Linked DNA regions of Homo sapiens: regions 2, 3, 4, 5, 6 and 7 are each linked to region 1. The links are contacts of gene promoters, found by promoter capture Hi-C in blood cells and fetal thymus (Javierre and others, 2016). All regions are on one chromosome and are shown on one strand. The core of a region is centred on a gene start or on the middle of the fragment in contact, and the rest is flanking DNA. Distances in the headings are between cores, read along the strand shown. Region 1 holds the start of ACAT1 (acetyl-CoA acetyltransferase 1). Region 2 overlaps ATM (ATM serine/threonine kinase). Region 3 overlaps ATM (ATM serine/threonine kinase). Region 4 overlaps ATM (ATM serine/threonine kinase). Region 5 overlaps ATM (ATM serine/threonine kinase). Region 6 overlaps ATM (ATM serine/threonine kinase). Region 7 overlaps ATM (ATM serine/threonine kinase).

The links. The method cuts DNA at HindIII sites, captures the fragments that hold promoters and counts their contacts. A CHiCAGO score of 5 or more calls a contact.
Region 2: a fragment that was not itself captured here is called in contact with the fragment with the promoter of ACAT1 in region 1 in 2 of 17 cell types (neutrophils and non-activated CD4 T cells); the score reaches 5.6 in neutrophils.
Region 3: a fragment that was not itself captured here is called in contact with the fragment with the promoter of ACAT1 in region 1 in 7 of 17 cell types (naive CD4 T cells, naive B cells, neutrophils and 4 more); the score reaches 8.2 in naive CD4 T cells.
Region 4: a fragment that was not itself captured here is called in contact with the fragment with the promoter of ACAT1 in region 1 in 2 of 17 cell types (neutrophils and M2 macrophages); the score reaches 5.4 in neutrophils.
Region 5: a contact is called between a fragment that was not itself captured here and the fragment with the promoter of ACAT1 in region 1, in 1 of 17 cell types (neutrophils). The highest score is 7.6, in neutrophils.
Region 6: a contact is called between a fragment that was not itself captured here and the fragment with the promoter of ACAT1 in region 1, in 1 of 17 cell types (M2 macrophages). The highest score is 5.8, in M2 macrophages.
Region 7: a contact is called between a fragment that was not itself captured here and the fragment with the promoter of ACAT1 in region 1, in 2 of 17 cell types (M2 macrophages and M1 macrophages). The highest score is 6.5, in M2 macrophages.

Annotation. Positions count from the first base shown.
Region 1 is chr11:108,120,317-108,123,881 of GRCh38, forward strand. ACAT1 (acetyl-CoA acetyltransferase 1) reads left to right here and starts at 1,251. Exons shown (of 12, transcript NM_000019.4): 1 at 1,251-1,362. The coding sequence starts at 1,291. RefSeq lists silencers at 913-1,451, 1,053-1,462. The HindIII fragment of the contact is 9,706 bases long and covers 1-1,422 here.
Region 2 is chr11:108,364,545-108,368,109 of GRCh38, forward strand. It overlaps ATM (ATM serine/threonine kinase), which reads left to right. Exons shown (of 63, transcript NM_000051.4): 62 at 538-674; 63 at 781-3,565. The coding sequence ends at 964. It also overlaps a transcript of C11orf65 not described here. Among named protein-coding and RNA genes, the nearest start is that of C11orf65, 100 kb to the right of the region's middle. The HindIII fragment of the contact is 1,297 bases long and covers 952-2,248 here.
Region 3 is chr11:108,344,688-108,348,252 of GRCh38, forward strand. ATM (ATM serine/threonine kinase) reads left to right here. Exons shown (of 63, transcript NM_000051.4): 58 at 1,056-1,221; 59 at 2,592-2,678. It also overlaps a transcript of C11orf65 not described here. Among named protein-coding and RNA genes, the nearest start is that of C11orf65, 120 kb to the right of the region's middle. The HindIII fragment of the contact is 2,793 bases long and covers 596-3,388 here.
Region 4 is chr11:108,313,610-108,317,174 of GRCh38, forward strand. It overlaps ATM (ATM serine/threonine kinase), which reads left to right. Exons shown (of 63, transcript NM_000051.4): 41 at 2,214-2,302; 42 at 2,402-2,504. It also overlaps a transcript of C11orf65 not described here. Among named protein-coding and RNA genes, the nearest start is that of ATM, 92 kb to the left of the region's middle. The HindIII fragment of the contact is 6,335 bases long and covers 1-3,565 here.
Region 5 is chr11:108,295,223-108,298,787 of GRCh38, forward strand. It overlaps ATM (ATM serine/threonine kinase), which reads left to right. Exons shown (of 63, transcript NM_000051.4): 33 at 2,065-2,160. Among named protein-coding and RNA genes, the nearest start is that of ATM, 74 kb to the left of the region's middle. The HindIII fragment of the contact is 6,595 bases long and covers 1-3,565 here.
Region 6 is chr11:108,277,174-108,280,738 of GRCh38, forward strand. ATM (ATM serine/threonine kinase) reads left to right here. Exons shown (of 63, transcript NM_000051.4): 23 at 2,318-2,435. Among named protein-coding and RNA genes, the nearest start is that of ATM, 56 kb to the left of the region's middle. RefSeq lists an enhancer at 1-762. The HindIII fragment of the contact is 588 bases long and covers 1,786-2,373 here.
Region 7 is chr11:108,251,114-108,253,782 of GRCh38, forward strand. It overlaps ATM (ATM serine/threonine kinase), which reads left to right. Exons shown (of 63, transcript NM_000051.4): 11 at 724-918; 12 at 1,704-1,799. Among named protein-coding and RNA genes, the nearest start is that of ATM, 29 kb to the left of the region's middle. The HindIII fragment of the contact is 861 bases long and covers 821-1,681 here.

The sequences.
Region 1 (3,565 bases), core at 1-2,500:
CAAGACCCCTTCTCTATATAAAATAAAAATTAAAAAAATTAGCATGGTGGAGCATGCCTGTAGTCCTAGCTACGTAGCTACTTGGGAAGCAGAGACAGGAGGATCCCCTAGCTACTTGGGAGGCAGAGACAGGAGGATCCCCTGAGACCAGGAGTTTGAGGCTGCAGTGAGATATGATTGCACCACTGTACTCCAGACTGGGTGACAAGAGCGAGACCCTATCTTAAAAAAAAAAAATACTCCAAAACATAATGGCCTAAAATAACAACCATTTGTTTTCTCTCGTTTCTGTGGACCATGAATTCAGACAGCATGGTGGGTATGGCTTGTCTCTGCTCCATGATGTCTGGGGTCTCAGCTGGAGTGGTTGAAGGTTGGGGACTGGAATCACCTGAGGCCTTTTTACCCATATTTGTATCTGGACTGAGCCTGGAATTTGATTGCTTCAAAATATTTTCACGGCTGGGTGTGATGGCTCACGCCTGTAATCCCAGCACTTTGAGAGGCTGAGTCTGGCCGTCTGCTTGAGCCCAGGAGTCAGCAACCAGCCTAGGCAACATAGGGAGACCTAGTCTCTACAAAAAAAAAAAAATACAACAATTTGCTGGGCGTGGTCGCCTGCGCCTGTAATCCCAGCACTTTGGGAGGCCGAGGAGGGAGGCTCACTTGAGTCCAGGAGTTCAAGACCAGTCTGGCCAACATGGTGAAACCCCGTCTCCACAAAAAATACAAAAATTATCTGGTTGTGGAGGCTTTCGCCTGTAGTCTCAGCTACTGGGATGGCTGGGGAGGGAGGATCGCTTGAGCCCTGATGGTCGAGATTACAGTGAGCTGTGGTCACGTCACTGCACTCCAGCTTGGGTGACAGAGTGAGACCTTGTCTCAAAAAAAAAAAAAAAAATCCTAAAATATTTTCATGAGTTTGTGCTGGGTAGGCCTAAGGGAAACATGCTCAGTAAATCGAAAAATCTCGGATTACACATAAACCACCGGCCCCGGCAGGTTAGACTTGGTGGACACGGGAGCCAGCAGCGTGTCAGGTGCTCGTTGACCCCAGCGCCAGTGTCTCCATCCACGTCCTTCACTCGTCAACCTTTCCTGGCCCAGGCTGCGGTGTCCCAGCGCCAGGCTCCGCCCCGCCCTTGGCTGCCGGCCAATCGCCGCCGACTGAGAGGCGACTATTGGAGGAAGCGGGATGGGCGGTGCCCGCGCCGGGCCGCTAGGGGTGCGGGGTTGGGGAGGAGGCCGCTAGTCTACGCCTGTGGAGCCGATACTCAGCCCTCTGCGACCATGGCTGTGCTGGCGGCACTTCTGCGCAGCGGCGCCCGCAGCCGCAGCCCCCTGCTCCGGAGGCTGGTGCAGGTGAGCGGGGTTCGTCCCCACAGCACTCAGACCCGGGATGCGAGGAGTCCCCGCCTCGGAAGCTTCCAGCCCGCGGCCGTTGCGGCTCCCGCGGCCCGGGCGCGCGGCTTAGGCCCCAGGACAGTCACGCGACGGGTTCTGGTCCAAAAACCGCCTAAGTGCTCCGATAACACCCAGGGACTCGCCTATTTTTACAGCGCGTTTCTACTTCCAAGGTCTCGGCGTAATCATCTTAATGAGCGTTACTGGTGTGTCAAACAAGGGCACGTGTCTGGGCGGGCAGGACCGCCAGGATTGGCGCTGGCCCGGCCTGAGCGGTGGGATCGGGGAGAGTCTCTTTGCAGGCCTGTGCAGCTGCTCCCGAGATTTTCTTTAAAACATATTTGTGTGCGTTATTGTCAGGAGAGGTTCCTTTTCTTTTTTAATACAATAGATAATCATTGGGCATACAAGGGGAGAGGGCACCATGTGATCATAACAGATGTTTTTTGGAGCAGCCTGAAATTTATCAGGGAAAACAAATGACTACTCAGATAATACAATAAATTATACTTGACATATGAGCAAAGCTCACATACTGAGGGCGTTCCAAGGGCTGTCGCTCTTCTGACCGTTGTGTTTAGGGAACACAGCAGGGGCAGAGTCTCAAAGAATTTATTCTCCACATGCGTAAGCAAGGGAGTACGCACCACAGATTGTCAGGCAAAGCCTCAGGAATAGGTAGAGACCTTCAGGGTGTGGTTGGTGAAGCTTGAGTTTTCTAGGTCGATGGGGGCAATAAGCTTGGAGATCCAGTTATGTTGTGAGTATGGACTTGACCCTAGTTAAGTAGGGATTGTTGATATGTTTGTTTTTGTTGCAATGGTAGGTCACTCTAGTTCTTACGTCTGGGCGTAGAATAACATTACTTGCACAAGGGTGCTGGCGGTAGGAGCTTTGCAAGAGATTGTAAAAGAACCAGTCTAGGACTTGACAATTAGGGAGTGAGGGTGCGAAGCCAAGGGAAAAGAAAGAGTCTAAAATTGATCCTGGGTGACTGAGATAATAGAAAAGTCACAAGGCGTAGGTTTCCAGGGAAGATGAGTTTTTAGCCTATTTGTTAGTCTCATGGGATGAGTGAAGAAATCACAAGAAAGTAATTAGGTTATCTTGGGTTTCAGTCAGTATTGACTAGGTGACATAGGTGAACTAGGTACTCTAGAGATGTAAAAAAAAAAAGTTCAGAACCTTCTTAATTTATGGTTTAATTAAGATCTTACAATCAGGTTGGTTGAGGTGGCTTATGCCAGTAATCCCAGCACTTTGGGAGGCCGGGGTGGGTAGATCATTTGAGGTCAAGAGTTCAAGACCAGCCTGGCCAACGTGGTGAAGCCCCACCTCTATTAAAAATACACACACACACAAAAATTAGCTGGGTGTGGTGGCAGGCGCCTGTAATCCCAGCTACTTGGGAGGCTGAGGCAGGAGAATCGCTTGAACCCGGGAGGAGGGGAAGGTTGCAGTGAGCTGAGATCATGCCACTGCACTCCAGCCTGGGCAACAGAGTGAGACTCCGTCTTAAAAAAAAAGATCTTAAAATGAAACACAAATACTCCTCATGAAAAAAATAAGCCTGTACATGCTGTAATGTATGATATGTGACATTCATATTACTGAACTCTAGGAAGCAGTTGTATTGGACACTTGAATTAAATGGTCATTTACTGAACTATAAACAGGATTTCCAGTTTTCTGTGCTATTTTGTAGAATGGAATTTGACCTCTCATTACATTGGCTCTTTTCCCTTTGCTTACCAGGTCTCTTTTATGGTCAACAAATCTTTATGGACTTTATTGGAGCACATTGCCTTTCTAGCTCTAATCACTTTTCTCTCTCTGGTCAAAGGAGTGGTCTTTACTCATTACCTCCCATGTATTCTGCATCTATTTCTCCTTAACTCTCTGCAGTTAAATTTCTTTGCCACTGAAGCTGAAAAATACAGTGATTTCCTTTTTCTTTGTTTTTTAATTATTTTTTTAAATCTATTTTAATTTTAGTTTTTGTAGACACGGGGTCTGGTTCTGTTGGCCAGGCTGGTCTTGAACTCCTGGCCTGCCAAAGTGCTGGGATTACAGGTGTGAGCCATTGTGCTCAGCCCAAGTTTTTTCTTCTTGACCTTTATCCTATATTTGACACTATTGACCACTCCCTTCTTGAAACTGT
Region 2 (3,565 bases), core at 350-2,849, 240 kb after region 1:
TCTGGATCCACCCAGATTTAGAACTGAGAGAAAAAGAGCCATAGGAATAGGGTGGAGATCAGAATTTCAGATTTGTTACTGATAAAACTATTGGAGAAGACGGCTTAGGAGTGAGGTCCAAATAGGCTTGCTGGTGCTCTCCAGTTCCCACATCCCAATCTATACCTTGAGACAGCCTGGGCTGAGGAAGAATTGGGCCCTACAAAGCAAATACACTAACCCAGGGTTAAGAGTAGAGAGAGAAGGAAAGAAAGTGACTAACCTTTTAATAGATTAGTTTCATCCAGTCAGGAAACATGGGTCAAGGGATGTCACCCCTAACCATGGAGGAAGAATGAATTCAGAATGAAATGAGAAGCTTGGAGCATTATGCTAGGATAGTTTCCTCAAGGAAACATGAAGTGTGCATGATGTTTGTTCCCCTCCCCCATCAACTACCATGTGACTGGCTTATTTGTATGATACTGGTTCTACTGTTTCTAAGTATGTGATTAAAATGTACATTGTTCTTTTAATACATATGTTCTCTCTGTTTAGGTCCTTCTATATGATCCACTCTTTGACTGGACCATGAATCCTTTGAAAGCTTTGTATTTACAGCAGAGGCCGGAAGATGAAACTGAGCTTCACCCTACTCTGAATGCAGATGACCAAGAATGCAAACGAAATCTCAGGTGAGCAGTATTTTAAGAAGGTCCTGTTGTCAGTTTTTCAGATTTTCTTATTCCCAAGGCCTTTAAACTGTTCACCTCACTGAAACCTTTGTGTTTTTGTCCTTAGTGATATTGACCAGAGTTTCAACAAAGTAGCTGAACGTGTCTTAATGAGACTACAAGAGAAACTGAAAGGAGTGGAAGAAGGCACTGTGCTCAGTGTTGGTGGACAAGTGAATTTGCTCATACAGCAGGCCATAGACCCCAAAAATCTCAGCCGACTTTTCCCAGGATGGAAAGCTTGGGTGTGATCTTCAGTATATGAATTACCCTTTCATTCAGCCTTTAGAAATTATATTTTAGCCTTTATTTTTAACCTGCCAACATACTTTAAGTAGGGATTAATATTTAAGTGAACTATTGTGGGTTTTTTTGAATGTTGGTTTTAATACTTGATTTAATCACCACTCAAAAATGTTTTGATGGTCTTAAGGAACATCTCTGCTTTCACTCTTTAGAAATAATGGTCATTCGGGCTGGGCGCAGCGGCTCACGCCTGTAATCCCAGCACTTTGGGAGGCCGAGGTGAGCGGATCACAAGGTCAGGAGTTCGAGACCAGCCTGGCCAAGAGACCAGCCTGGCCAGTATGGTGAAACCCTGTCTCTACTAAAAATACAAAAATTAGCCGAGCATGGTGGCGGGCACCTGTAATCCCAGCTACTCGAGAGGCTGAGGCAGGAGAATCTCTTGAACCTGGGAGGTGAAGGTTGCTGTGGGCCAAAATCATGCCATTGCACTCCAGCCTGGGTGACAAGAGCGAAACTCCATCTCAAAAAAAAAAAAAAAAAAACAGAAACGTATTTGGATTTTTCCTAGTAAGATCACTCAGTGTTACTAAATAATGAAGTTGTTATGGAGAACAAATTTCAAAGACACAGTTAGTGTAGTTACTATTTTTTTAAGTGTGTATTAAAACTTCTCATTCTATTCTCTTTATCTTTTAAGCCCTTCTGTACTGTCCATGTATGTTATCTTTCTGTGATAACTTCATAGATTGCCTTCTAGTTCATGAATTCTCTTGTCAGATGTATATAATCTCTTTTACCCTATCCATTGGGCTTCTTCTTTCAGAAATTGTTTTTCATTTCTAATTATGCATCATTTTTCAGATCTCTGTTTCTTGATGTCATTTTTAATGTTTTTTTAATGTTTTTTATGTCACTAATTATTTTAAATGTCTGTACTTGATAGACACTGTAATAGTTCTATTAAATTTAGTTCCTGCTGTTTATATCTGTTGATTTTTGTATTTGATAGGCTGTTCATCCAGTTTTGTCTTTTTGAAAAGTGAGTTTATTTTCAGCAAGGCTTTATCTATGGGAATCTTGAGTGTCTGTTTATGTCATATTCCCAGGGCTGTTGCTGCACACAAGCCCATTCTTATTTTAATTTCTTGGCTTTAGGGTTTCCATACCTGAAGTGTAGCATAAATACTGATAGGAGATTTCCCAGGCCAAGGCAAACACACTTCCTCCTCATCTCCTTGTGCTAGTGGGCAGAATATTTGATTGATGCCTTTTTCACTGAGAGTATAAGCTTCCATGTGTCCCACCTTTATGGCAGGGGTGGAAGGAGGTACATTTAATTCCCACTGCCTGCCTTTGGCAAGCCCTGGGTTCTTTGCTCCCCATATAGATGTCTAAGCTAAAAGCCGTGGGTTAATGAGACTGGCAAATTGTTCCAGGACAGCTACAGCATCAGCTCACATATTCACCTCTCTGGTTTTTCATTCCCCTCATTTTTTTCTGAGACAGAGTCTTGCTCTGTCACCCAGGCTGGAGTGCAGTGGCATGATCTCAGCTCACTGAAACCTCTGCCTCCTGGGTTCAAGCAATTCTCCTGCCTCAGCCTCCCGAGTAGCTGGGACTACAGGCGTGTGCCAACACGCCCGGCTAATTTTTTGTATTTTTATTAGAGACGGAGTTTCACCGTGTTAGCCAGGATGGTCTCGATCGCTTGACCTCGTGATCCACCCTCCTCGGCCTCCCAAAGTGCTGGGATTACAGGTGTGAGCCACCGCGCCCGGCCTCATTCCCCTCATTTTTGACCGTAAGGATTTCCCCTTTCTTGTAAGTTCTGCTATGTATTTAAAAGAATGTTTTCTACATTTTATCCAGCATTTCTCTGTGTTCTGTTGGAAGGGAAGGGCTTAGGTATCTAGTTTGATACATAGGTAGAAGTGGAACATTTCTCTGTCCCCCAGCTGTCATCATATAAGATAAACATCAGATAAAAAGCCACCTGAAAGTAAAACTACTGACTCGTGTATTAGTGAGTATAATCTCTTCTCCATCCTTAGGAAAATGTTCATCCCAGCTGCGGAGATTAACAAATGGGTGATTGAGCTTTCTCCTCGTATTTGGACCTTGAAGGTTATATAAATTTTTTTCTTATGAAGAGTTGGCATTTCTTTTTATTGCCAATGGCAGGCACTCATTCATATTTGATCTCCTCACCTTCCCCTCCCCTAAAACCAATCTCCAGAACTTTTTGGACTATAAATTTCTTGGTTTGACTTCTGGAGAACTGTTCAGAATATTACTTTGCATTTCAAATTACAAACTTACCTTGGTGTATCTTTTTCTTACAAGCTGCCTAAATGAATATTTGGTATATATTGGTAGTTTTATTACTATAGTAAATCAAGGAAATGCAGTAAACTTAAAATGTCTTTAAGAAAGCCCTGAAATCTTCATGGGTGAAATTAGAAATTATCAACTAGATAATAGTATAGATAAATGAATTTGTAGCTAATTCTTGCTAGTTGTTGCATCCAGAGAGCTTTGAATAACATCATTAATCTACTCTTTAGCCTTGCATGGTATGCTATGAGGCTCCTGTTCTGTTCAAG
Region 3 (3,565 bases), core at 742-3,241, 230 kb after region 1:
TAGGATTTGATTGCTGATTAAAAATAAGGTTGGGGGGCGGGTGTGGTAGCGCATGCCTGTAATCCCAGCACTTAAGGATACCAAGGCAGGAGGATTGCTTGAGCCCAGGAGTTTAAGACCAGCCTGGGAAACATAGTGAGACCACATCTCTACAAAAAATAAAAAGTCAGCCAGGTAATGGTGGCACATGCCTGTAATCCCAGCTACTCAAGAGGCTGAGGTGAGAGGATTGCTTGAGCCCAGGGGCCAAAATTGCAGTGAGCTGTGATCACACCCCTGCACTCCAGTCCAGGTGACAGAGACCCTGTCACCCTGTCTCCAAAAAAAAAAAATGTTGGAGAAAAGGAGTAGCCAGTGCCTCCCAGTTTTCTGTTTGGGGCAGCTGGGTAGATGGTGAAGCTCTTTACTGCATTGAAGAATAGAAGAGGTGACTAAAGTTTGCCAGAGATGAAGTATTTGAATTTGGAAGTGATCCAAGTGAAGATGCTGAATGGGCAGCTTGAGAAGCACATTAAGCTAAAGCTTAATAAAGATATCTGGGCCAAACAGATTTAGAAATCATCAGCACATAGATGGAAGGGAGTTGAAGTCGGTAAGCTTTGCTTCAGGTAGTATTTTATGGCAAGAAGATGTTGGAGGATAGAGATCTGAGTCATATCAGCTGCCATCTATGAGGGATTCTTCTGTTCTTTCTCTTTTCCTGTTTTCTATTGCAACCCAATGCTGTGATGCCACCTGAGGTTATCTGGAACTACTTAGGCATTTCTGTGTTTATTTCTGCTTAAGAGTACAGGATTATTCAAATTAGAATTTAATCAAAACAAGTAACAGTCACTGTAGGTGTGCTTCCTCCCCCAACAATTAATATGGAAATCCTAAAGGGATTATCACTTGTAATTAATTGCTTCCCTGTCCAGACTGTTAGCTTCTTGTAGGTAATGTATCCTGTTCATCTTTATTGCCCCTATATCTGTCATATTTTTATATAAAAATGTGTATATTAGTTTAATTGAACACAATATTGAAAAATAATTATATATATTCTCTATTTAAAGGAGGTGCAAAAAAAGTCTTTTGAAGAGAAATATGAAGTCTTCATGGATGTTTGCCAAAATTTTCAACCAGTTTTCCGTTACTTCTGCATGGAAAAATTCTTGGATCCAGCTATTTGGTTTGAGAAGCGATTGGCTTATACGCGCAGTGTAGCTACTTCTTCTATTGGTAATCTTCTTGTACATATAGTAGATTGAGCACTTTGTTGTTTGGCAGGTTTTATTTTTGTTTGATTCAGCACTTTTTCTACATTCTGAGTTGCAGGGGGATGATAGTGATGATGTGGTTAGTAACCAACCCATCTTCATTATTAAATCATATGTTTCTTGTTCATCCTGATTCTTAGTGTCTACCTTTTTATAACTTATGCAGAAGAGAATTCTCCTACTTCAATAAATAATAAAAAGACAGGGTTTTCTTCTTTGTTTTATAGTGAATATGGCATATTTTCTCTCCTCTCAATATATTATTTTCTGAGACTTTCTTTGGAAAATAATGAAACCTGTGATAACTTATTTCCTTTAATTATTTTTGTTCTTTTGCATATAACCTCTAAATATCATCACCTAGTGATTAATACTTTTTAATAGAATTTTGTTTTCAGAATAGAAACCATGAGATATATTTAAATATTTTGTGTACAATATATATTTTGACTTTTTTTCCCTAAGAAATTAGAATAGGTAGATAGTATGGTTAACAAAATCCTAGAGTATGAGAACTAATGTAAACATTAGAGATCATCTAATCTATTTGTTGTTTTTTTTTTTTTTAACTAAAGACAACTCCCTCCATCACTTACATACTATACCCCAGGAAGGCAGGGCATGTATGTTTTGAAAGAGTTCCCAGGTAATTGTGAAACTCTCTTCTACATAGAGAATCACTAATCTGATACAACTAGTTTATAAACAAGAAAGTAGGCCTAGTTAATGACAGAGCAAGCCAGACACCCAGTCATTCTGATTCCCTACCCAGTGTGTTTTTTTGTAATGCCATGTGATTTCTCCCATTAGTGCATGTCATCATCTGTCTTAAATACAGAAATGCAGTTTTTTGGGGGGATACACACCTGGTGAAATGAATTAATGATTAATTTGTGTTAAATATAATTCATCAAGGAGAAGAAAGTTTCACTGAAGAGTGAAGAGTTTATCCATAGACTTCTCATTTTATAAGTATGTTCAATAAAAATTTGAGTACATATAATGCACAGCTTTGACCCAGGTAAATAATGGGTCTCAACTTTAGCCACAATAATTTTTTAAGTACTAATATTTTAAAATGTGTGCCTATTAGTAAAGAGAAAATTTTTTTAGCAAATCATCTAGGATTTGTAAAATGCAATATGCATTAAAATAGCTGGCAAGATTTGAGTTAAACTCAACATGGCCGGTTATGCACATCATTTAAGTAGGCTAAAAATCCTAAACTACTTAAAGATTATACCAAGTCAGTGGTCTTAATTGAAATTATGGCTATATATTAGAAAGAGATGGAATCAGTGATTTCAGATTGTTTGTTTCTTTTTTCTCCAGTTGGTTACATACTTGGACTTGGTGATAGACATGTACAGAATATCTTGATAAATGAGCAGTCAGCAGAACTTGTACATATAGATCTAGGTAAGTAATAAAATCTATGTATCTATTCTTTTTAGTAAATATTTGGTCATCATGGAATGTTGTTTGCCTACCAAGATATTACAAATATAAGAGACAGATAAATTGAAGCAGTAAATATTGGGTTTTTTTGTTTTCAGCATAAACAGTTGTCCTAGAAGAAACAGTTAACTCTGCCTGGGGTACTGAGTGAAACTTAATAGATGAGGTGTCTTTTGAGCCTGGTCTTCAAGAAAGAAAGAAAGCATAATTCAGACAGAAGATAGAGCAGATTCAAAAGAAGGAATCAGGGCTATTCCACCAAAACAAGGAGTAATTTTAAGATGTAGCATGTTGTGGGAGTGGTGAGACATTAAATGTGTCTGGAGTGAAGTAAGCCTGTAGTTGAGTCGCTTGAGAGAGAGATTGGTACTAGACTGTAAAAAGCCAGGCTAAGGAGTTTCAACTTCATTGCATTAAACTATAGGAAATAAATGAAGGACATGATAATATTTTATTTTCAGAAATATAATTTCAGGAGCACTTTGGGGAGTGGTATTGGCAGCAGGAAGAAAAATTAAGGGATATTGTAATAGTTTAGATGAGAAATGATGAAGATTTATACTAAAGTTGTAGAAACCAGAATATTGGATTTGAGGGACATTTTTGTAGTAAACTGTACCAGTGATATTAGATGAGGAAATAGTGGGGGAGTGGGGCCCCCAGATAACTGAAGCTTCTAACTAAGGAATATATCAAGTTTTGTAAATAGTAAGAAAGTGATGAATTTAGTTTTGCTCATTATTTTGAAGTATTAATGGAATTTCTAGGTGGAATAGACAGTTTAATATATAAGAAAGAAAGAATATATAGCTTCTATGTATATATATAGACAGTTTAATATAAAAGAA
Region 4 (3,565 bases), core at 953-3,452, 190 kb after region 1:
CTTTTGCCTTCTTCATAGGCTCCTCCTCTCTACTGAGTTTTTGGAATATCGTGTGTGTACTAAGCACTGTGCTAAGCATGGGTACTGAACTTTTCTACTCTGAGGACTTGATTTCACGTTATGAATAGAAACATTTGAGTTGGAACTATAGAATTATGCCAATATAAATGAATTTGTGTGTAGAAAATATTTCACAGAGCAAGCACCATATAGGCAGTTCAATTGCTTGATCAATTTTCTATGCAGTATAGTTCCTAGTTTTTTCTATTTTATTTTTTTTATGTTTTCATTTTTATTTAACTGAGATTGTTTTAAACAGAATATATCTTTTCTGTGTAAATTTTACAACAAAGATTTCAGTAACCAAACTACTTTATCCATATCAAATTTTACCAATTCCAATACAGTTTTGTGCTATTTTTCAAAGAAAAATCCACGACCTTTATTCTTACCAAATTGAGTTTTCAAGAGTCAGACTTTGTAGGACTGTATTTTCTAATGTACAGTTTTTTTGTTTTTTTTTCCAGACAGGATCTGGCTCTGTTGCCCAGGCTGGAGTGCAGTGGTGCAGTCATAACACACTGCAAGCTCTGCCTCCCAGGCTCAAGCCATCCTCCAACCTCAGCCTCACAAGTAGCTGGGACTACAGGCATGCCCCACCATCTCCAGCTAATTTTTGTAGAGATGGGTTTAGCCATGTTGCCCAGGCCGATCTTGAATTCCTGAGCTCAAGCAGTCTGCCTGCCTTGGCTACCCAAAGTACTGGGATTAAAGATGTGAGCCACTGCACCCAGCCCATGTACAGTTTTAGGTGTTGACAAGATTGTTTGGTTTTGTTTGTGTGATTTTTTTTTTTTTATGTGATATAAGCCTGGTAGGTCGGTACTTATTTCTTATCTAATTCATGAAATTGTAGGCAATTCTTCTCGGGTAGACTACAGTCCTCCTGTTGTCTAGGACCAGTCTACTGTGTTGCTGATCCAAATCATTAGTATATACAGTTGACCCTTGAACAGTGTAAGGGTTAGAGGTGCTAACCCCCTGTGCTATTAAAAATCAGGGTAAAACTAAATTAGTAGTCAAAAGTTAACTACTAATAGTCTACTGTTGACCAGAAGCCCTACCGATGATATAAACAACACAATTTTGTATATGTATTATATACTGTATTCTTAAATAAAGTAGCTTGAGAAAAGAAAATGTTATTGAGAAAATGATAAGGAAGAGAAAATGCATTTACAGAACTGTACTGTGTTTATCAATACCGTAAGTTTATATCATCTGTTTACAAAGAATCATCTGTCTGAAATTGTAGGCAACCACTGCTGGTTGATATGTACTTTAGGCCTCAATCTACAGAATGTATCAAACAATTCACCTTTTTCTTGTAATGGCATGACTTTTCTCTGCATCTTGGAAGCACCTCCAGCCACTGTGGTGTTAATCAAGGCTTATAGTATTGCAGTAAACACAGTGAAAAAATACATGAGAACCTGGAGAGATTACTTTTCATTTCTGGATACAATTTACTAGAGAAATGAACTGCTCATGTGGAAATTATTAGTGTCACATGGCATTTTAAGCAGATACTCACAACACAATAATGCTTACCACAGTAGCAACTGAGGTAGCTGCAAAATTATTACAATAGTACAATATGTACGATAGTTAATCTTATGCAATTATGATTTAATACTGCATCTTTACATTTGTTTATATTTGTCTTAACCACAAATAATGCTGTGTACAGTGTGTGTGTGTAAGTTTTGATAAATTTTAACTCTTTGTAATAGATTTGTGTATATTTTATGGTAGTAAATGATGAAATGTATCATATCAAATGTATACAAATGATGGAATGTGTAGACTAGTTGTACATTTATTTTATGCATTCATGACATAACTTTTAAAAAATTTTTCAGTAGTTCTAAACTGTGTGGTTTGTGAATTTTTTCAAATTGTGGCAAACCTCCAAAAAGTTTTCAATATATTTATTGAAAAAAAAATCCACATATAAGTTGTCCTGCACAGTTCAAACTCGTGTTGTTTGAACTGTATTTCAGAACTGTATTTCAGAATCATTACATTTTATTTCTATAACATAACATTTAGAGTTGGGAGTTACATATTGGTAATGATACAATTTAAAATTTGCTAAATTTATAGACCGATTTTTTTTCCTTCTTCAATTTTTGTTGTTTCCATGTTTTCAGGATCTTCTCTTAGAAATCTACAGAAGTATAGGGGAGCCAGATAGTTTGTATGGCTGTGGTGGAGGGAAGATGTTACAACCCATTACTAGGTAAATTGCATTTTTCTAAACAACGGTATAGTAATTCTGTTTATGAAGGAGTTATGTGTGTGTAAAACCCAAAGCTATTTTCACAATCTTTTCTTATAGACTACGAACATATGAACACGAAGCAATGTGGGGCAAAGCCCTAGTAACATATGACCTCGAAACAGCAATCCCCTCATCAACACGCCAGGCAGGAATCATTCAGGTACATTTTTTCCCAGATTTGGTAAAGCCATCACTAGTGTAGTGCTGAGGTTATTTCAGTATGTTGGTGGATATTTACACAGCCAGATAAACTCTAGAGATAAGACTAGAACTTATCTGTTTTTCAGAGGATTAGGCTAAACATTCAGGGATACTCCTGAAGCAGAGGGATGCAAAAAAAAGAGAAAAAATTCAGGGAGACACAGGAAAGTCAGACAGGTCATTGACCTAAAAGATAGTGTAGATTTCTTGATCATAGTGTTGTTGGATAACAACAGAAGACATTGCTCGAGCATATACAATGTGCCAGGTAGTGTACTTACTGCTTCACATGGAAAATCTTATGTAAACTATTTCTCATAGTTTGCAACAGAGTTGGTCCCAGAACCTGTTGTTTCTATTACTGGCTAATACTCCTTAGCCATTCTTCCATGAAATATTAGAGCCCTTTGAGCTCTATTTTTGTGTTTTTTGGGAAACATTAAACGATATTTTGGGATTAAAAAAATGTTTTTGGCCAGGCGTGGTGGCTTGCGCCTGTAATCCCAGCACTTTGGGAGGCCGAGGCGAGCAGATCACGAGGTCAGGAGGTCCAGACCATCCTGGCTAACACGGTGAAACCCCGTCTCTACTAAAAATACAAAAAAAAAAAAAAAAAAAAAAATTAGCCGGGTGTGGTGGCGGGTGCCTGTAGGCCCAGCTACTTGGGAGGCTGAGGCAGGAGAATGGCGTGAACCTGGGAGGCAGAGGTTGCAGTGAGCCGAGATCGCGCCACTGCACTCCAGCCTGGGCAATAGAGCGAGACTCCATCTCAAAAATAAATAAATAAATAAATTTTAGAGATAAGGTGTCACCCTGTTACTGATGCTGGAGTGCATTAGCGTGATCATAGTTCACTGCAGCCTTGACCTCCCTGGCTCAAGGGCACCTCTCGCTTCAGCCACCCAAGTAGCTGGGGCTACAGGTACACACTACCATACCCAGCTATTTTAAAAAAAAAAAAAAATTGTAGAGACAGGTCTTGGTTTGTTGTCCAGGCTGGTCTCAAACTCCTGGGCTCAA
Region 5 (3,565 bases), core at 205-2,704, 180 kb after region 1:
CTTCTCACCCTGAACTCTTCCTGTTTTATTCATCCTCTGCCAGATGATTTCTCTAAACCCAAATATGATCATGTTTTTCTACTGCCTAAATTTTTTTTTTAAGAGACAGAGTTTTTTTTTTTTTTTAAGAGTCTCACTCTGTCACCTAGGCTGGAGTGTAGTGGCACCATCATAACTTACTATGACCTTGAATTCCTGGGTACAAGGAATTCTCCTGTCTCAGCCTTCTGAATAGCTGGAACAACAGGCACACACCACTACACCTAGCTACTTTATTTATTTTTTTTATTTTTTGTAGGGACAGGGGTCCCACTATGTTGCCTAGGTTGGTCTCGAATTCTTGGCCTCAAGTGATCCTCCTGCCTTAGCCTCACAAAGCATTGGGATTAGAGGTGTGAGCCACGGCATCTAGCCATGCTTAAACATTTTTCATTTCTTTTTCTTTTTTTTTAAGACGGAGTTTCGCTCTTGTTGCCCAGGCTGGAATGCAGTGGCACTATCTTAGCTCACTGCAACCTCCACCTCCTGAGCTCAGATTCTCGTGCCTCAGCCTTCCTAGTAGCTAGGATTACAGGCACCTGCCACCATGCCTGGCTAATTTTTTGTATTTTTTTTAGTAGAGACGGGGTTTCACCATGTTGGCCAGGGTGGTCTCAAACTCCTGAGCTCAGGCAATCCGCCCACCTCAGCCTCCCAAAGTGCTGGGATTACAGGCATGAGCCACCGCGGCTGGCCCATGCTTAAACATTTTTAACACCTTCCAACCATGTAAAAGAAAATTTTAATTCCTTAGAGCCAGACATACAAGTTAGTCTTGTCTTCTAGTCCAGTTTACCTGAATGAAAGAAATATGTCTCATTTTAATACTTTAGTCATATGTGTTATGTGTGTCTATATATATGTAAGTATGTATTTGTAAGTTTTTCTAGCTTGCTTGTTAATTTGATTTGAAATGTACATTATTACAGTATTTGGGAAACTTTCTACTTTGTGTTTTGATTTTCATCTTCCTATACCAATTAATTTCATATTTCTTTTTTTTTTTTGAAACGAAGTCTCACTCTGTCGCCCAGGTTGGAGTGCAGTGGCACAGTCTCAGCTCACTGCAACCTCCACCTCCTGGGTTCAAGTGATTCTCCTGCCCCAGCCTCCCAAGGAGCAGGGATTACAGGTGTGTGCCACCATGCCCAGCTAATTTTTTGTATCTTTAGTAGAGACGGGGTTTCACCATGTTGTCCAGGCTGGTCTTGAACTCCTGACCTCAAGTGATCCATCTGCCTCGGCCTCCCAAAGTGCTGGGATTACAGGCGTGAGCCACCACGCCTGGCCTAATTTCATATTTCTCTTGTGTTGTTTTTACTCTCAGTACTTTTTAAAATGAATTTTAGTTTTGACTATCTGAGCATAGAGTTTCTAATACATTTGAGATATATAAAATGTATGTAAATAGAAACACCATTATTTCTTGTACTTGTGTTCTTGAGTATTTTATGGGCTAGAGATCTGCCTTGTGCATTACAGCCACTAGCCATTTGGCTATTTAAATGAAGTAAAATTAAATGAAATTTGAAGTTCAGTTTTTTCATTGGTACTGAACACATATCAAGTTCTCAGTAGTACATTTGGTCAGTAGTGATCATTGGACAGTGTAGATTATAGACATTTCCATCATTGCAGAAAGTTCTGTGGGACAGTGCTGGTCTAAACTCTAAATGTTAGATGTTAAAAAGCCAAGCAGGCTCCCAAAGTCCCTTCTAGCTTTAGTGTTGAATGATTCTTGTGCTTCTGTTTGTGATTTTGCTAAGGTGTTGACTTATCTGCACAATTTGTTTAAGACATTTTATTTTCTCTGTTGTCACATATTGCTAATCACTTTCAAAAGAATCTGTTGTATTAAGGAAGTTCAGATTCATTCCCTACATATTTTTTGAGCTACTCATGACTTAAAACCTTTTTTAAACTTTATAGAAGTTTTCTAGTCAGATAATTTAATATATATGCAATTATAAACAAAAGTGTTGTCTTCATGCTAGTTTAAACTAATTTTTAAAAAATTATTTCTAGATAATCCGCAAGATGGGATTATGGTGAAACTAGTTGTCAATTTGTTGCAGTTATCCAAGATGGCAATAAACCACACTGGTGAAAAAGAAGTTCTAGGTAAACTACAGTCATGCGCTGCGTGACATTTCAGTCAACTGCGGATCACATATAGGACAGATTATAATACTGTATTTTTACTGTATGTTTTCTGTTGCCTGTAGTATTCAGTATAGTAACATGCTATACAGGTTTGTAGCCTAGGTGTGTAGTAGGCTATACCATCTAGGTTTGTGTAAGTATATTCTGTGATGTTCACGCAATGACAGAATTGCCCAATGACACATTTCTCAGAACATATCTGTGTCATTAAGCAAAGCATGATTGTATTGGCGGAATGAATGTGAGTTATGCGGTGGTCATCTTTATTATATGAGTGGTTATCTTTATTATATCTTCAAAATAAGTGAGGGTTTGTCATTTGGGATATTGGGGAAATATGAGATGCTAGCTAAGTTACATGCCTATTTAATTAAAATGTCCCTAAAAAGGCCCCTTTTGTACTTTTCTTCCTTAAATATTCATATAAAATGAAAAGTTAGAGATTTACATATGTGTATAACTTAATTTGAAAATGCCTTGTAAATATTTAGGAAAGTCAGAAATACTTGTTTTTAGAGTTAAGTTGCAAATAAATTGACTGCCGATATATTTTATAAATACATTATAACTGACAGGTACTCAGTGTCTTTTGTTATGTAGCAGACATAAGAATGAAGACTTGGAGGGCTAGATTAAACTTAAATAATTAAAAACCATTCAAGTCCTTTCCTACAGCCATTTGAGGGGAAACCTAATGTAAAATAAGAAGCCAACATCATCTCTAGTTTAGGTGTTTAGATTTAGTGACCACGGGATGGAGAAATCACCTGGTTAAAGTCAGCTTGAAGCTCTCGTGATGGTTTTTGTTTCTAATTAGAAAAATAGGAATAAGTAGTGTTTCACAGATTCTACTATCTTTCTTCAACAGCCTTAACTTCTCATTAGGAGCCTAATATCTACAGTACTTCCTTTTTTGTAGATTTTAAAAAATTGAGATATATCCTAATATAGAAAAGTATACAGATCAAAAATATCTAGCTTGAAGAATGTTTGCAGAGTACGCTTGTACATGTAGCACCCAGACTAAAAAACAGAATCTTACCAGAACTGTAGAAGTTTTCTTTAACCAACATACTTACCTCCTTGTCCATAGTGGCACTGCTTTTATGGACAGACCTGATTTACAACAGAAGCCCTAAGTGGCTTTCCTGTGTAGCATAAAATTAATGTGGTTTGTTCTCACAGCTTTCCCCCTAAGATCAGGAATGAGACAAGGCTGTCCACTTTCACTACTGCTGTTCAACAGTGTACTGGAAGTTCTAGCCAGAGCAATTAAACAAGAAAAAGAAATTAAAAGCATGCCAATTAGAAAGGAAGTAAAACTATCTGTATTTACAGACGACATGATCTTATGTATGGAAAA
Region 6 (3,565 bases), core at 830-3,329, 160 kb after region 1:
AACATCCTACTGAAGCCTCAGTAATTGCAGACGCCCCTCCCCCCACCAAGCTTCAGTGTCCCAGGTCGACTTCAGACTGTTCTGCTGGCAGCGAGAATTTCAAGCCAGTGGATCTTAACTTGCTGGTCTCCATGGGGGTGGGATCCGCTGAGCTAGACCACTTGGCTCCCTGGCTTCAGCCCCCTTTCTAGGGGAGTGAATGGGTCCGTCTCGCTGGCGTTCCAGGTGCCACTGGGGTATGAAAAAACACTCTTGCAGCTAGCTCAGTGTCTGCCCAAATGGCCGCCCAGCTTTGTGCTTTAAACCCAGGGCCCTGGTGGTGTAGGCACCCAAGGGAATCTCTTGGTCTGCGGGTTGCAAAGACTGCGGGAAAAGCGTAGTATCTGGGCAGGAATCCACCATTCCTCACAGCATAGCCCCTCACAGCATAGTCCCTCACGGCTTCCCTTGGCTAGGGGAGGGAGTTCCCCGACCCCTTGTGCTTCCCGGGTGAGGCTACACCCCACCCTGCTTTGACTCTCCCTCCGTGGGCTGCACCCACTGTCTAACCAGTCCCAATGAGATGAGCCATCTACCTCAGTTGGAAATGCAGAAATCACCACCTTCTGCGTTGATCTCACTGGGAGCTGCAGACCAGAACTGTTCCTATGTTGCCATCTTGCTGTTCCCTTGTTTTATTTTTCTCTAGTATTTATGATAACGTGAAACATATTTTAATATATTTACTTCTCCGTATTCCACTAGTATATATGTTCCTAAAGGCACTGGTTTTTGTCTGTTCTGTTCATTGTTGTATTTTTAGCACCTAAAACAATACTTGGCATGTGATAGGTATCCAATAACTGTTTTAAAATAAATGAATGTACTTGAAAAAAAATTACATGATGCTTCAAAAACATCAAAGCTGAAAATCATTTGAGTAACTTTAAAATGTAAGCAATCAATAATAAAAGATTACTATATTGTTCAGCAGTCACATAAAGTATTAAAACTAATATTTCAGTATTTGAATATGCCGACAGTAATGTTTTCATAAACTAGATTTTGTGTCTAACTCCTCAGGTTTGGAACTGTTTTTAGTAAGACCATAATGCATTGCAAGGATTTCTAATGAATATGTTTAGTAGTTCAAGCCCTTATTAAATTTCACAGATAAAAGCAAATGTATGCTGAACTTTAAGGACTGAGGTAATATAAGACTGAATTGAATGTAATAAGGCGGCAGTGTAGTGGTGGCATTAAAAAAACTGAAGATTCAAAAAGTATAAATTCAAGAATAACATGCAAGTAGCATTCTTTTTTTTAATTTTACACTTGTTAGATTTTGTCTTAGTCCCTTTGTGTTGCTATAAAGGAATACCTGAGGCTGGATATTTACAAAGAAAAGAGGTTTATTTGGCATATGGCGTCTACATCTGGTAAGGGCCTCAGACTCATGGCAGAAGGCAAAGAGGAATCAGTGTGTGCAGAGATCACATGGTGAGAGAGGAAGCAAGGGTGGAGGCGGGGAAGGCCATGCCAGGCTCTTTTTTTTAATAACCAGCCCTTGTGGGAACTGAATAGTGAGAACTCACTCATTCCTTACCCTCAGGCCTTAATCTATTCGTGAGGGATCTGCCCCCATGACTCCGACACCTCCCATTAGGCATAACCTAATGGGGATCAGATTTCAACATGACATTTGGAGGGGTTAAACATTCAGACAATAGCAGATATCTAATGTTCAGCTATTTTAAGAGCAGTGAGTGAAACTAGAAGAATCAGAGGAACATAAACAATTATAAAAGCTTCGATTACTAAAAAAGGATAAAAGACAAAGTTGATTAAAGAGTTATCCTTAAATATGTGGGTGTTACGCAAAAGGTGTACTGATCAACTTTTTTCCATCACATAAAACAAAATTTAAATGGTACATAAAAACATTAACTTACCCGCTTTCAGAGTGATTAAATGTTAGAGCAGGTTGACATTGGAATCTGTGGACTCAACTAATTGGTGTTCGGCCAGAGAACAGTTTATCTTTTCTGGCTAGTTTGAGTTCAGTGCTGTTCAAATTTGAGCAATAGTTAAAATATATTTTGAGACCCTCTTCAGTTCTAGGAGAAAATAGATTTTGTATTCAAGACCTTAATACTAAGCTGCTGGTCTGAACCTCTTTAAATAAACTCAGGTTTTGTTAGTCTTTAAGAAAGAGCTAGTATGTTATTATGTCTCACAGAGTGATTTATTTTTGTTCTGGAATATGCTTTGGAAAGTAGGGTTTGAAATTAGAAAATTATTTCACTTTTTGTTTGTTTGTTTGCTTGCTTGTTTTAAGATTGTTCCAGGACACGAAGGGAGATTCTTCCAGGTTACTGAAAGCACTTCCTTTGAAGCTTCAGCAAACAGCTTTTGAAAATGCATACTTGAAAGCTCAGGAAGGAATGAGAGAAATGGTAATTTTAAGTAACATGTATTTGCTGTTATCATATGCTTGCTATGAATATCCCATAAATTACTTCACCAAGTTTGGTATAAGAGAGTTTATAATCCAGTAGTTTACAGTATAAAGCTGCTCTAAAACAACTGTATGAATTGATTGAAACTGCATTCTTTCTGGGTCACAATGGGTCAAATCATAGCAATTTCTTTTGGTTTAGCATTTTTATGGAGAAACCCAAAATTTAACTGAGTTTTTATGGGAGTATAAATGGCTCCCTTTTTTATTTTAAAAATCCTTTTATATGTGATCTGATTAAAAGCTAATTAAGGGAACAGGTGACAATGGGAAGAAATGGATTGAGGAGAAGAATCTCACACAAAATCAAATCATTGTGGTGTTTACAGTGAAACTTGTGATATTTCACGTTTCTGTAGAATAATATATTTTTTATGGTAATGATTATCTTAGAGTTCAAATTTTTTCATTTATTTATGCCCTGGTTTGTTTCTTACAAGTATTTAAGGTAGTTAAATAACTGTCAAGTCTGTGATAGCAGGAAATTGAAAGGAACAATTGAAAGAATGTGAGTTTAGAAAAGAATTTCAATAGATTAGAAAGATAAGTGTAAATAACATAAAATCTAATGAGATAATGTATATTATACATTTTAAATCAGCCTGTCATCTGCAAAAAGGGAAAATACTGATCTGACAGCAATTCATTTAGAAAAAGACCTAGGAAGTTTTGTATCTTGTGATTATAGTATGAATCAACATTGTATTACAGTTACCAAAAAGGCTAACTCTGTCTTACACTGCATTAATAGAAGCATATTGTCATGAACAAAGTTAATACAAGAACTTGGATCTTTTATACTTTTTGCTTTATTTTTAGATCTTTTAATTTTTATGGGTACATAGTAGGGGTGTGTGTGTGTGTGTGATACGGGTATACAATGTGAAATAATCACATCATGGAGAATGGGGTATCCATCCCCCAAACAAATATCCTTTGTGTTACAAGCAATCCAATTACACTGTTTTAGTTATTAAATGTTTCTGTATTTTTTAGAGGATAACTATAATGTTTGGTTTGGTTCTGAGTAAAGTAAAAGATTTTTAGCCAGAATGTTATAGATCTGTG
Region 7 (2,669 bases), core at 1-2,500, 130 kb after region 1:
ACACAGACACACACACACTCACATATCCCTGATCATTTTCATAGTTTGTTACTTCAGTTAAAGATGTCAAATTCTATTTCAGATGCTTTTCTTGTTTGGCCGAGAAGACTTAATAAATGCATAAGTGAATTTAGTTTCAAATGTTGACAAATTATTAAAGACTAATGTTAAGGAATTTCTTTTTTAGTTAAAAAATTTTTAATTGATCTATAATAGAGTTATATATTATCAAGGTACATGTGATAATTTGACACACTCATATGACACACTCATGTAGGGTGATGGGATATCAGCACCCTACGTATCTTTTCTTCATGCTAGGAACGTTTGAATTATTCTCTTCTTGCTGTTTGGAAATGTACAATAGATTAATGTTAACCGTAGTCACCCTACTGATGTATCGGACACCAGGTCTTATTCCTTCTAATTGTATACGTGTATCCAAAAGACTTTCTTTAAAGAATTATGAAGAGTTTAAATTTCTTTTATGTGCAATTTATCATTATTTATTAAATAGCCATGTTTAAATTGTAGTACTATGCACTGTTAATAAACGAGCTATTTTTTAATCAAGAATCTTCCCAAATGTAATCAGACTTTTAACAGTTTTTATGTTCATTTAGTCACCTTAACTAAATGTATGTGCCAGGCACTGTCCTGATAGATAAAGTCTTTGCCCCTCCAATAGCTTGCTTTTCACAATTGTCCTTTGTTTTGTTATAGTCCTGCAGTATGCTGTTTGACTTTGGCACTGACCACCAGTATAGTTCCAGGAACGGTAAAAATGGGAATAGAGCAAAATATGTGTGAAGTAAATAGAAGCTTTTCTTTAAAGGAATCAATAATGAAATGGCTCTTATTCTATCAGTTAGAGGGTGACTTAGAAAATAGCACAGAAGTGCCTCCAATTCTTCACAGGTAATTTAAGTTCATTAGCATGCTGCTGTTTTTTTTGTTTGTTTTATCAGGCTCTCTCCACTTATTTGATGCCAGATGGCTTTATTTTATAATAATAATGCAGAATTTCCCAGATCTAACCTTAATTATTAAATATTATGTTTGTTTTTACAGTTATCTGTGTCTTTATGCCTGATTGCTTCTGAAATAAAGGGTTGTCTCACTGTGAGAATATGGGGGATGTGCATGAAAAATGCACATATAATTCTTTGAGCATTTATGTGTTCCTTTCTGATTTTTTAAATAAGTAAGTCCATATATTTGAGTCATGTAGATCCTGGATCCTTTCTCATAATGGGAGTGTCTTTTGGGTAAAAGATGTTTTATGAATGAGGTGAGGAAACGAGGAAGACAAAACAGGATGTAAGCACTAGGATAAAGGAATGGAGTCCCTCGTCCACTTAACCTTTCCACAGATTGGTAATTGGAACCAAATGATTGGAGAGCAGACCTCCGAATGGATCCAATTAAAGTACTTTTGCTTTAATTTTACAACCTTTTATTTATTTCAGAAATAATGTTAAACATGCTGTTTCTAAACAGTATTGGAAATGATAATAACAATGGTTGTCCTCCTTAAATTGTCCTTTTAGATATTAAGAAATTTAGTATAGATGAAAGCAATTTTAATCTAGGATCCAAATTTTAGAAGTCAAGATTTATAGCTAAACATGGATGTTAAAGTTTAAAGTATTCTTTACATGGCTTTTGGTCTTCTAAGTGAAGCTTTTTGTTTTTCTTTGTAGTAATTTTCCTCATCTTGTACTGGAGAAAATTCTTGTGAGTCTCACTATGAAAAACTGTAAAGCTGCAATGAATTTTTTCCAAAGCGTGCCAGAATGGTATGTTATCTAATAATGCTCTTTATCATTTTAAGCTATAGCTTTAATTACAAAGATGATAATTTTAGCTGGGTAGTAGCTGCATCTTAATAATTGTAAACTAAATTGGTCCAAAAAAATTGCAACTGTTAGCCAGGGAAGAGGTTGTTTTAATTCAGTGATTGTAATCTATGTTATATAACATTAGACCAAGCTTACTATTTTTTAATGCTGTATAGTATAATATGTGACAAGTGCCAATGAGAAAAACTGAATGGTTATGCTGGGAAATTAAGAATATAAAATTTATATGAAATAAGTTCTTAAAGATGTTACCCATTTCTGTACATCAACTATGATTTGACTATTTGTTAGCTTTAAAAACTAATGATAATTGAAAACAAAAATAAATCTAAACCTGAGTTTAGTTGATTGACTCAAGAGACTTAGATTGTATTGCTGTGACTGAAAATGACTCACTGGCACAAACATTCCTTATCTCCCTCAAGAGGGCAAAAGGATGCGTAACTGCTTACCTATACCAGATGTTAAAGGTTTTTAAACCTATGCTCTTTACTTCCTCTGCTTGGTGAAAAAAGGGATATGTTTGCAGACAATGTTATGCTTAACATTTATATCTGGTGTTTTTAAAAATACTTTCTGAATTTGCCTTTGAGATTGTAACTTGTATTTTTTCTCTATCTATTAGTAAAATTTGCTACTGAATAATGACATTTGATATAAGTAGGTCTCAAAGTCCGAAGAAGAGAAGCATTTAAAAGAATAATCTATTAATTATATAAGTAGTCTTTGAATGATGTAGATACTAGGTTAATGTTTTCCTTTGTAATATATTGCTAATACATATAAGGCAAAGCATTAGGTACTTGG